3 separate regions of the Homo sapiens genome follow, and all the other regions are linked to region 1. The links are contacts of gene promoters, found by promoter capture Hi-C in human tissues and cell types (Jung and others, 2019). All regions are on one chromosome and are shown on one strand. Each heading gives the region's core, a stretch centred on a gene start or on the middle of the fragment in contact. The rest is flanking DNA. Distances are from core to core; before and after follow the strand shown.

Region 1 (3,323 bases), core at 513-3,012:
ATGTAAGTGAAAAAACCAATGAGGTGCTGTTCCCAGAATGGCTAAAACTAAAAGGAAAACCAAATGGAGGCAAAGATATGGAGCATGTGTTCCTGATTTAAATTGGTACAGCCACGTTGGAAAACTTAATGGTGCCAAAGTGAAATATACATATACTCTATGACCTAAAAATTCCACTCCTTTGTATATTCCTAATGAAAATGAATGCTTATATTCACCAAAAGACATGCACAAGGATGTTCATTGCAGCTTTATTCATAACACAAACGGAAACAACTCGAAAATTCATGCATTAATATATTGTGGCATAGTCATATAATGGAATACCACACAATATTGAAAAAGAATGAACTACTGCTATCCACAACTATGTAGATGACTGTCACAGGCATAAGGTAAAGTGAAAGAACCTGGACATAGAAGAACATCTACTATATGTTTTCATTTATAGGACATTCAACAATAGGCAAAACTAATTTATGGTGGATGATAGAGATCAAAACAGCAATTACTTTTGACTGGAAGGGGGCAGGAAGGAGTCTTCTTGGATGCGGAGAATGTTCCATATCTGTAGCAGAGTGGTAGTTACATGGGTATGGTTACTTGAAAAAAAAAATCCATCAGACTGTACATCTAAGACTTTATGTAATTCTACCTCAAAGAAAACATTAGTGCCAGCTCATTTTTCATCTTCAGTTGCTTTGTCATTTTTTTCCTTGAACTCTTGTATCTCTGCTTTGAGTGCTTGTTATATAGAGATTATTTTTACTTTAGTTCCTAGAGTTTATGGAGATTTATGGTAGTCTCACAGTTTTACTTTTCTCAATTTCAGTTACCAGGGTCCAAAAATAGGTGCAATGCAGAGAGAGAAATCATATTCACATAACTTTCATTATATTACTTTATTTAATTTGTCCTATTTTATTAGTAGTTATTGTCATTAATTTCTTACTGTGCCTAATTTTTCATGATGATAATTATTTTTTGAGATGGGGTCTTATTCTGTCACCTAAGCTGGAGTGCAGAGGCTCCATGATGGCTTACTGCAGCCTCAACCTCCTGGGCTTAAGTGATTCTCCCATCTCAGCCTCCCAAGCAGCTTGGACTACACGCATGCACCACAATGCTGACTAATATTACTTTTTGTAGAGGCAAAGTTTTGCTATGTTTCCCAGGCTACTCTGGAACTCCTGAGCTTGAGTGATCCTCCTGCCTTAACCTCCCAAAGTGCTGGGATTACAGGTGTGAGCCACTGAGCCCAGCCTTACTGTGCCTAATTTAGAAATTAAACTTTATCAAATAGACATGCACATATAGGGGGCCAGGCACGGTGGCTCACACCTGTAATCCCAGCACTTTGGGAGGCTGAGGCGAGTGAATCACTTGAGCCCAGGTGTTTAAGACCAGCCTGACCAACACGGTGAAACCCCCTCTCTACTAAAAGTACAAATATTAGCCGGGCATGGTGGTGCATGCCTGTAGTCCCAGCTACTTGGGAGGATGAGGCAGGAGAATGGCTTGAACCCAGGAAGTGGAGGTTACAGTGAGCAGAGTTCACGCCACTGCACTCCAGCCTGGGCAACAAAGTGAGACTCTGCCTCAGGAAAAAAAAAAAAAAAAGCACATATAGGAAAAAAACATAGTATATAGGGTTTGGTACTAAATGTGGTTTTGGGCATCCACTGGGGGTCTTGGAACGTATCCTCTGTGGATAAGGGCAGGGGACTACTGTATTTGGTCATGATTTTCACCAGTTTTGAGGCAAGATGTTTCTGTATTCTTTACCTGCCAGTTGTTTCCCTATTGATTTCCTCCTTTCTCCTTCTTGTATTTTCCTAAAGATTTGTGTGCTGTTTCTCTTTTAGTTACTTCTCACCTTTGAATGAGGGCACTTTTCCTGCAGGGTTGACACACACTATTTCCAATGGGCAACATCCAAATTGTCTTCTCTCCAGGGGGCGCCATTGACGTGGAATACAACATGAATAGCGTCTCCTAGAGCCCCTGCCTCCTAGACAGCCTCTTTGCTATGGGAGGCACCAGAGCAGAGTGGCAAACCCCTACCTGAGTCCCCATGATCCCAGCAGGGATTCATATGTGTGCTTGTGTGAGCTGGTTTACCCTTTGCTCTTCTACAGAGAGAGGCTAGCATCTGCAGGGCTGCTTATGACTGATAGCTGTCCCTCCACGCTGTGTCATCACGGTGCCAAGAGTCTTTCCTCACCCTGGTGCCCCTGCCCCTTTGTGGTCTCAAATGGGGTCCAAGGGAGCCTCAATAACTGGCCTGCACAAAAGCTTGTTCTAAGCCAGATATTTTGGTTTTGCATCCCAGAGTATCCACTTGTGTTGGACAGTTTGAGTCCTGCCAGCTGTGCCTGCAATATGCAATCTCTAGCTATTGGTTTGGATCTCCTTCTTACCTTAATTGGATTATCACCATAGAAGACAGCCTTCCTTCACATATATTAAAGTTCCAGGTAAAAGCAGCTTAGTCATTTCATCAAGATAAAGTTTCTTCTTGTTGCTTTCAGGTGATTTAAAATATTTTGTTCTCACACACAATGCTGCAACTGTACATAACTCAGCTTCTATATATGCAAGTGTATCTGCAGAACAAATGCCTATAATTAGAATACTGGTTAAAAAGGTAAGTGCCTTTATAATTTAAATAAATACTACCAACATACCCTTCCAGACATTTTACCAATTTATATTCCCATTGGTAACCATGCCCATTTCCCCAGACCCTTGCCTCAGATAACAGAGATATAAGTGCACTTAACAGTATAAAGGAAAACCCTAAGACTGATACTATAATTAATTACGTTGGGTCAGATTCTTGGTTTCAACAATAAAGTTTATACTAACTAGCTTAGGCAGAAAGGGATTTATTAAGTAGCTCATATAAGCATTGGAAGGGCTGGAAGAACAGGCTCTCAGCTGAGCTTCCAGTAACAACTCTCAGAACCATAGTGTGGAACCGGCCTGGTGAGATGGCTGCTGCCATGGCCATATCCAGGACGATATTCCCTCTAAGCGAGCTGCTCCTCCAACTGCAGAAACACGTCCCCCTGCTGCACAGAACACTCTTCACTCAGAGAGCTGCGTGGCTCCCTCCCTGGGCCAATTTCCAGTAGGTATTCCTGCCCGAGTCTCAGCTCAGGCCCCACAGTTGGCTAGTCTCTTCTGCCTGAAGTCGATTCAGTTGGGTTTTTCAGACATTGCTGAGTCCAGCTTTGTGGGAGGCTCTGTGCCATACAGCTGGCCTGACCATTGCCCATGGGAAGCCAGCTCAAGGGGGAAAGCCTGAAGGCTTTGAGCAC
Region 2 (3,723 bases), core at 944-3,443, 550 kb after region 1:
AGCCACTGCGCCCGGCCTGAAAAATATTTTTAAATGGCTGATACAGTTGGTCTTCTTTCATTTCTTTTTTTTCCCCACAATTTTCTTTGTTGTTTTCACATTAATTTTTCATGAAGACTTTAGTAGTCTTGTATTATGTTCTGGGAAAAAAAAACCCTTATTGATGTTTTCACTGGAATTGAATTTCATTTGTAGGTTGAGTAATTCACATCTGTACAATATTGTGTAATCCCACGTAAGGAAAAAGTATATCTTTCCATTTGCCTAAGTAATTTATCTCCCTTTGTAGAGTTTGAAACTTGTCTTCATATAGGTGCTGCCTATTTCATGTTAAGTTTAAACCTAGGAACTTTATTTTTGTTGTAACTGTAAATTAAAATTGTTTTTCAATTACACATTCCAACTGAATATAATTTGGACACAATAAAGTTATTAATTTGTGGGTAATAATTTTGCTTTATTGAATTTTTATAATGTTTCTAATAGTTTTTCAGTTATTTCTCTTTGGGTTTCCAGGTAAACAATCGTATTATTAGCAAATAATGTTAATTTTACCTTCTCTTTTCTAATATTTTTATATTCTCTTACTCTTGTCTAATTGCACTGGCTAATAAAACTAGAAAAATGTTAAGTAGATGTGGTGACACTGGGCATTCTGAGCTGCTTCTAATGTTGTATCATTAGGCACAGTAAAATTACTTTTTTTTTTTTTTTTTTTTTTGAGACGGCGTCTCACTCTGCCGCCCAGGCTGGAGTGCAATGGCGTGATCTCGGCTCACTGCAGCCTCTGCCTCCCCGGCTTAAGCGATTCTCCCGCCTCGGCCTCCCAAGTAGCTGGGATTAAAGGCGTGCACCACCATGCCTGGCTAATTTTGCATTTTTAGTAGAGACAGGATTTCACTATGCTGGTCTTGAACTCCTGACCTCAAGTGATCCGCCCGCCTCGTCCTCCCAAAGTGCTGATGTATTACAGGCCTGAGCTAGCGTGCCCAGTCCCTAGAAAAAAAAAAACACCTCGTACACAGCTGACGTTCAAAAAAATGTTGACTTTCAGTGAATACTATGCTAGCACATACACACAAAAGTAGTACGGGATCATGCTACACAGAAATAAAAAACACTAAGTAAACATTTACTGAGCATCTCCTGGGTGCCAGGCACTGGACTAGGCACTGCCTTAACAGCTCTTTCGGAGTTGATTTTGAACGCATACAACGACGGAAAGAGCACCGCAGTGGGAATGTGAAGACTTAGGTTCTAATCTTTCCTCGGTCACTGATTTGATGACCTTGGGAAGTTCTTAACCAACAGATTCCACTTGCCCAAAAGGAAAGAATTTGAGTGAAGAGGAGGCCGTCTTGGAATTCATAAGGGAAAAGGCCTCAGGTTACCTCTGGCCTTCCCTCCCCACGTACTAAAGGAGAGTTTATAGCTGATGAACCACAGATGGGGCAGAGAGAAGGGCGGTGGAACTAACAGATATGGGGACACCACCAAAAATAAAACACAACGCAAAACAAAACAGCGCGGACCCCGGCCATCCCTTGCACCTCCCCTGTGAAACACGTCAACGTCAGTTACGCTCTCTCGTGACGGGAATGCAGAATCTGGGCTGCCGGGCACCATTTCGCGAACCCCAAATTCTCACACGCACCCCATAACGTTCCGCCGGCTCCCAGGCCCGGCTGGGGGAACTAAACTTTCATCCTCCATCTCCCGGTCCCGGACGGCCCCCTAGAACGCGGGCAAGGTATCTAGGCCGACGGCCCCTCATGGGGACCCAGGCCTTCTTACTCTTTTGGGGGTACATTCAAGGCTTAGAGGCCACCCCAGACACCATCTCCGGAAGAGTGACGTCGGAGGACGAGGGGGCAACGGAAAGGTCAAAAAGGTCGGGGAGTTTCGTTCGCGGAGCCGCACCCCTCGGCTGAGACCCGGGCCTGCTCGGGGGCGGAGAGGAGGCCGGGCCCCAGGCTGTTGAGTGGCCGCCCTTCCAGCCAATGGACACGTCGCCCCGCCACGCTGGGGCCCGCCCCTCCCGGCTCGCTGTACTCACTTTCCCCACTTCGGCGTTGCCCATGGAGATGACTTTGATGCGGAGAGACCTGCCGGGCTCCTTCCGCTTCGGCATGTTGGCCTCCATGGCCCTGGCTCTCTCGGGGCCACCCGCCTCGGTCTCTTCTTGTGCACCGCTGGCCCGTCCCTCAGGCCTCCTCGTCCAATGGCGGAGCCGCTGCTCTCGTCACCGCCTCGCCTCCGCTGCTCGCCATCCCCGCCGCTGCCTGGCAGCAGGCGCGGGCGGTTGGGAGCGTGGGGAGCCGGGGGAGGGAGACGGGAGTCTCGCGATGCTAGCGCGGGGCTGCTGACGTCATCTGCAGGCCCTGGAGACGCGACTGCAGTTACCGAGTTTCTAAGGCCTCGTCCCCTGACGGGAAGGCGGCGTTGGGGGGCGGCTGGGTTTACCCTTCGAGGTGAGCGCGTCCTTGTTTTCAGGGACGCCCGGACGGGAGGCGTTTGTTGCTTTCGCAGCCGAGTGGTGGAAATGTATTGGCTCTTCAGGGCGGGTCTGGTAGTGTCTCGTCCGTTTGGGAGTGTTTTTTTTTTTTTCTGGATTCTTTTTCGGTTCCATGGGCCGGGCTGCTGCTCCTCTTCCCCCTCCAATATTTTGTTCCCCTTGCTCGAGATCCCCGAGAGGCAGACCCCAAAGCCAGGAAAGTGGGGAGGTCGGAACCCTGGTTCTGGAAGAGGGCCTTGGGCAAGGCGTGAAGCGATTCTGAATCTGGTTCCTATTGTTTTTTATTTTAAATGGAGTTGTCTATTTGGAGTCAAGGCAAGAGTGTTTAGTCTTGGCCCTCCTATTACAGATCTCTGATGGATTTGTTGACTCCTCTGTGGGAGAAAGGCTTGGTCTACTGCAGGTGTTAACGCTAAGCCAGGCTGGAGCTGTGGACGTCAGTTTCCTCAGCTCCCCGCTGTTCGCTTCGAACGTGACCTCGACGTCTGCTCTCCCCTTCCCTTTAGCTGACAATGTGACAGTGCTTGAATAAAAGTCAGTCTGACAGGAACGGTAATTTTTTTTCAGTGAATATCTTCAGTTACAGAAGATAAATAGAACTTGACAATGATTATTTATAGTGCCCTGAAAAAAAATGGCTGCCAATTTCCCTGTATATTACAAAGACAAAAGTAGCATTGCTTCTTTTCTCACCTAACTTTAAACATCTTAAGGGAAGTGCATTACAGGAAGGCAATGAGCAAAGGCTCAACATTTCACAGTAAAGTCAGATTTTCCACATTTTAATTTTAAAATGTGTTTTTTAAACATTAAGTTTTTTTTAAGACAAGTTTATTCTGGATTGTTTTGATAATCAAATAATATAACTTAATTCACTGAAGCTTCTAAAATTATTTACAAATATGAAATATAAGTCCTGGTTAGAATTTGGATAGTTTTAAAGCTTAAAAGAATCCACATGCTAACTTCTCAGTATGATTTAATAAATCAAATTACTAAACATGTAATTTCTTCGACAGTTCACCTTTGGCCCTGTAATAGGGTAACTGGTATTGTGGAAGAATAATTATAAAATGTCAAATCTTCAGCTGTTATGATTGATTAAGTATGGTGCTGTTGAGACTAAGCAGTAAAACATGCCACAGATTTAAATTGATTACTATTTTTTTCATATTGATGGGGTTTTTTTTGTTTTTGTTTTTGTTTTT
Region 3 (3,342 bases), core at 742-3,241, 620 kb after region 1:
CAGTATTCATCTGGAATTCCCTGCTAGACCTTTCATTCTTTGAAGACAGACACTGCATTTCCTTCTGTACTGTAGACACCAATGTTTCATGAGTATATTTTGTGTTGAGCAGAATTGTGGGAAGGGAGTGTCTCTGGGTGATCATATCAAGCTAGAGCTGAGATTCTCCTTCCTGCTCCAGTTCAAGTCTGACTCTCAGTCAATCTTAAAGCCACCTGGCCTGGTCCTGGAACTGAAGAACAGAGACAGAGGTTATTTGTGAGATGCAGGGAGTGTGTGCCCGGGGTAGGGGGGTCTAGACTAAATGTGTGTTCCAGGAACCATCCCAGGGTTTCCCTTGGGGCTGGCATGCTGCTAAGAGAGTCAAAGAGGTCAAGGAAGAAGAAGAAAACCTGGAAACAGCAAGAGAGTGGGGCGCGGGCGGGAGGTGGAGGCCCAGGCCAGAGAAAAATAGGAAACATAAGTTTTGAGTGCAACAGACTGAGCACTGTTTCAAGAGTCTGGCAACCTGGATTCTTTCTCTGGCTCTGTTCCTGCCTTGAGCCATGAAGGAAGGAAAAAATATACATGAGTGCCCACTGTGTCATTTCATGTAGATTTTATTCCAGTTTCCCAACAGTCCTGCAGGAAGCTGGGGTTGAGAGAGTAGATCATTGGCCTACAGACACACAGCCCAGCCTAACAACATAAATTAACCTCTCAACGTTAAATGAAGTAAAATGAAGTTCAGTTCTTAAGTATCTTTAAGTTCCTTTCCTCTCTAACTTCTACTAGTAGAATATTTCTACCAGTAGAAAAAAACAAAAGAAAACCCAAACAACTCTCAACCATGGGCCAAGAGAAACTAAGAAATCGATATTGAAAGGCCAGGAGGGGCAGGAGAAGTGGCTCAGGCCTGTAATCTCAGCACTTTGGGAGGCCGAGGCGGGCGGATCACTTGAGGTCAGGAGTTCCAGACCAGCCTGGCCAACATGGTGAAATCCCTTCTCTACCAAAAAATACAAAAATTAGCCGGGCGTGGTGGCACGCACCTGTAGTCCCAGCTACTCTGGAGGCTGAGGTGGAAGAATCGCTTGAACCCAGGAGGCGGAGTTTGCAGGGAGCCGAGATAGTGCCACTGTACTCCACCCTGGGCGAGAGTGAGACTCCATGTCAAAAAAAAAAAAAAAAAAAAAAAAAAAAAAAAAAAAGACGGGAACGTGTGCAATGTAAAGAAGGCTGGATGAGAAGCCCAGGGAAGTCCTGAGCTAGCTTAGGAGAGATCTTCAGGTGTGGGCGTAGGCATGAGCCGCTGCCTCTCTGTGCCTGTTCCTCATAGGGTCACGGCAGGTGCAGAGCTGGAATTCAAGTCGGCGCTGGGGCTCAGCTGGAGAGGATCCTGGCGGCAAAGCTTGCGAATTACACATATAAATCAGGGAGAGGAAAAGCAAGCGGACTTCCTGCAGCCCTTGGGGGTTGGGAGTGGGGTGCGTTTCCTGCGTCCCTGACCCGGGAAGGACGCTGTTTGGTGGTAGCAAGCACCTAGCCAGAGAGTGGCTGGGCACCTAGCCAGAGAGTAGCTGGTAGGGCGCAGCTGAGGGCTGGAGGGCTTCATCAGAGAACGGCGCTCAGCTAAGGTACCTAGCCAGGAGAGGGTGGAAGTCATTCCCCAATTCCCATCCTTGCGCCCCCCGGCTTAGCCCACGCAGCCTGGACAGAACTGGAGGAGGGGTGCACCTGCAGCTCTCAGCGCCCCGGCTGACCTCGAGGACCCCAGGTTAGGGAGAGCTTCCGAGCGCTCCGACAGGAGCAGGGAGTTGGGGTGGGTAGCTCCGCAGGTGCACGCTGCGGCCCTTAGGGCGACAGCCTCGGAAAAGGCGCATCTCCGGCTGTGGGTTTCTCGGGGGCGGGGCGCAGGGGCGGGGCGGGGCGAGGGGCTCGCAGAGGCCTCGGGTTGGCCGAGCCGGGAGGGAGGAGCATTAGTATTAGCATAGCCCCCGCCCCCTGCGCGCAGCAGTGCCCAGCAACCCGAGCGGAGGCGGCCGCTGCAGCCCGGCGCTGAATGGGCTGGCGGCGCCCGGCTCCGTCCTGCCCGCGGCCGGCCCCCGCGTCTGCTCCCTCCCCGCCCGGGCCCCTGTCGGCCGCCGCCAGTCCCCGCCCCGACTGTGAATGAAAGGCGGGCGCCGCCGAGGGCTGGCTGGGAACGCCGCAGCGACGCCGGCCTCTCGAGAGGCGCGCGCCCCGCCGAGATGTACGGTAAGGAGGGCTCCGCGCCCGGGCCCGGGCCCGCGGGGGCGACTCCGCAAACTTCCCCGGCGCGGACCATTGTCCCCCTGCACGGCCCTGGCGCGGGGCCAGGCCGCTGACCTGGTGCCCGGCGGGGCTGTTGCGGTCGCTCTGTGCGCGCGCGTCTGCGCTGCGAGGACAAAGATGCCTCGGGCCGGGGACCCTGGGGTCCTCTCCAGGCCCGGCGCGTGCCGGTGCTGGGCGGTGGTCCTTCGGGGGGCGGAGGCTCAGGGGAAAGCGGGTCTCCCGGAGCCGAGCAGACCGGGAGTGCTGGAGGAGGTGGTCGTGTGGCAGCATTTGCGGAATTAACAAAAGCGGTTTGTGCCTGGGAGTTTTCTGTGGGAAGCCGGTCCAGGGCTGAGGGAGACGCCCGCGGCCGGTCGTCTGCGCGGCTCGGAGAAGGCGGGAGGCGGCGCCGGCGGCGCAGAGGCCCGGGGAGCAGCCAGTGGCCGAGTCTCGTCTCGCCCGCCTGAATGGACTCGGCCTCTGCCTGCCCCTGCCGCCCCGCGGGATCCAGGTTCACCAACTTCCAGATTTTCCCTCCGCAGTGATGAAGGGAGGAGACGCTGCTGAGAGGGTGCAGCACAGCCCTGACCTCTCCCCGCCTCCACCGCCATCCCCTCAACTGCCGTGCAACAGTTAGCCAGACCCTCACGATGCACGGCTCTGCTTGATCATTTGCTAGGACTCCCTCTGGTTTTGCAGGCAGTGTGGGTGAAGAAGAGAGAGCGCGTTGGGTCCCACATTGCAGCTCTGATGAATGGAGCACTGGAGACCTAGACCAGTCTAGGAATGGACTGCATTCCTGAGCCTGCAGCCCACCAAGGGCTGTGCGTGTGTGTGTGATCCCGGTAGACATAAGTCCATGAAAACCCAGGTCTCTGGCAGCTCTTCTAGTGCCAGCAAAATAATTGGAGCTGTGCTCACCTCCCACCCCCACTGCAAGGTAGGGGCTCAGGCTGCACTTGAGGGGTCAGTGTTTGGAGAAGAGTGCGTTCCCAATTTAACCCATCACTGAGGCTGCTCGGCTGCTCAGCTGCCTCGCTCCGCGAACAGACTGTGAGTCACAAAGTTTGT

Evidence for each region. Contacts are between HindIII fragments. The study calls those that stand out against the background at their distance.
Region 2: the fragment with the promoter of DNAJC27 here is called in contact with a fragment that was not itself captured in region 1 in 1 of the 25 tissues and cell types used here (lymphoblastoid cells).
Region 3: a contact is called between the fragment with the promoter of EFR3B here and a fragment that was not itself captured in region 1, in 1 of the 25 tissues and cell types used here (spleen).

What each region holds. Positions count from the first base shown.
Region 1 is chr2:24,419,871-24,423,193 of GRCh38, forward strand. The region is part of intron 2 of LOC105374329 (a long non-coding RNA gene); the gene reads left to right. Among named protein-coding and RNA genes, the nearest start is that of ITSN2, 61 kb to the left of the region's middle. The HindIII fragment of the contact is 6,231 bases long and covers 1-3,323 here.
Region 2 is chr2:24,969,762-24,973,484 of GRCh38, forward strand. DNAJC27 (DnaJ heat shock protein family (Hsp40) member C27) reads right to left here and starts at 2,194. Exons shown (of 7, transcript NM_016544.3): 1 at 2,057-2,194. The coding sequence starts at 2,143. DNAJC27-AS1 (DNAJC27 antisense RNA 1) reads left to right here and starts at 2,351. Exons shown (of 3, transcript NR_034113.1): 1 at 2,351-2,471. RefSeq lists enhancers at 1,605-1,734, 1,688-2,206, 1,745-1,854, 2,115-2,224, 2,207-2,725 and 2 more and a silencer at 1,905-1,984. The HindIII fragment of the contact is 11,912 bases long and covers 1-3,723 here.
Region 3 is chr2:25,040,085-25,043,426 of GRCh38, forward strand. It overlaps EFR3B (EFR3 homolog B), which reads left to right and starts at 1,992. Exons shown (of 23, transcript NM_014971.2): 1 at 1,992-2,235. The coding sequence starts at 2,229. RefSeq lists enhancers at 1,000-1,949, 1,950-2,898 and silencers at 1,856-2,475, 2,606-2,685, 2,796-2,925, 3,256-3,342. The HindIII fragment of the contact is 5,946 bases long and covers 342-3,342 here.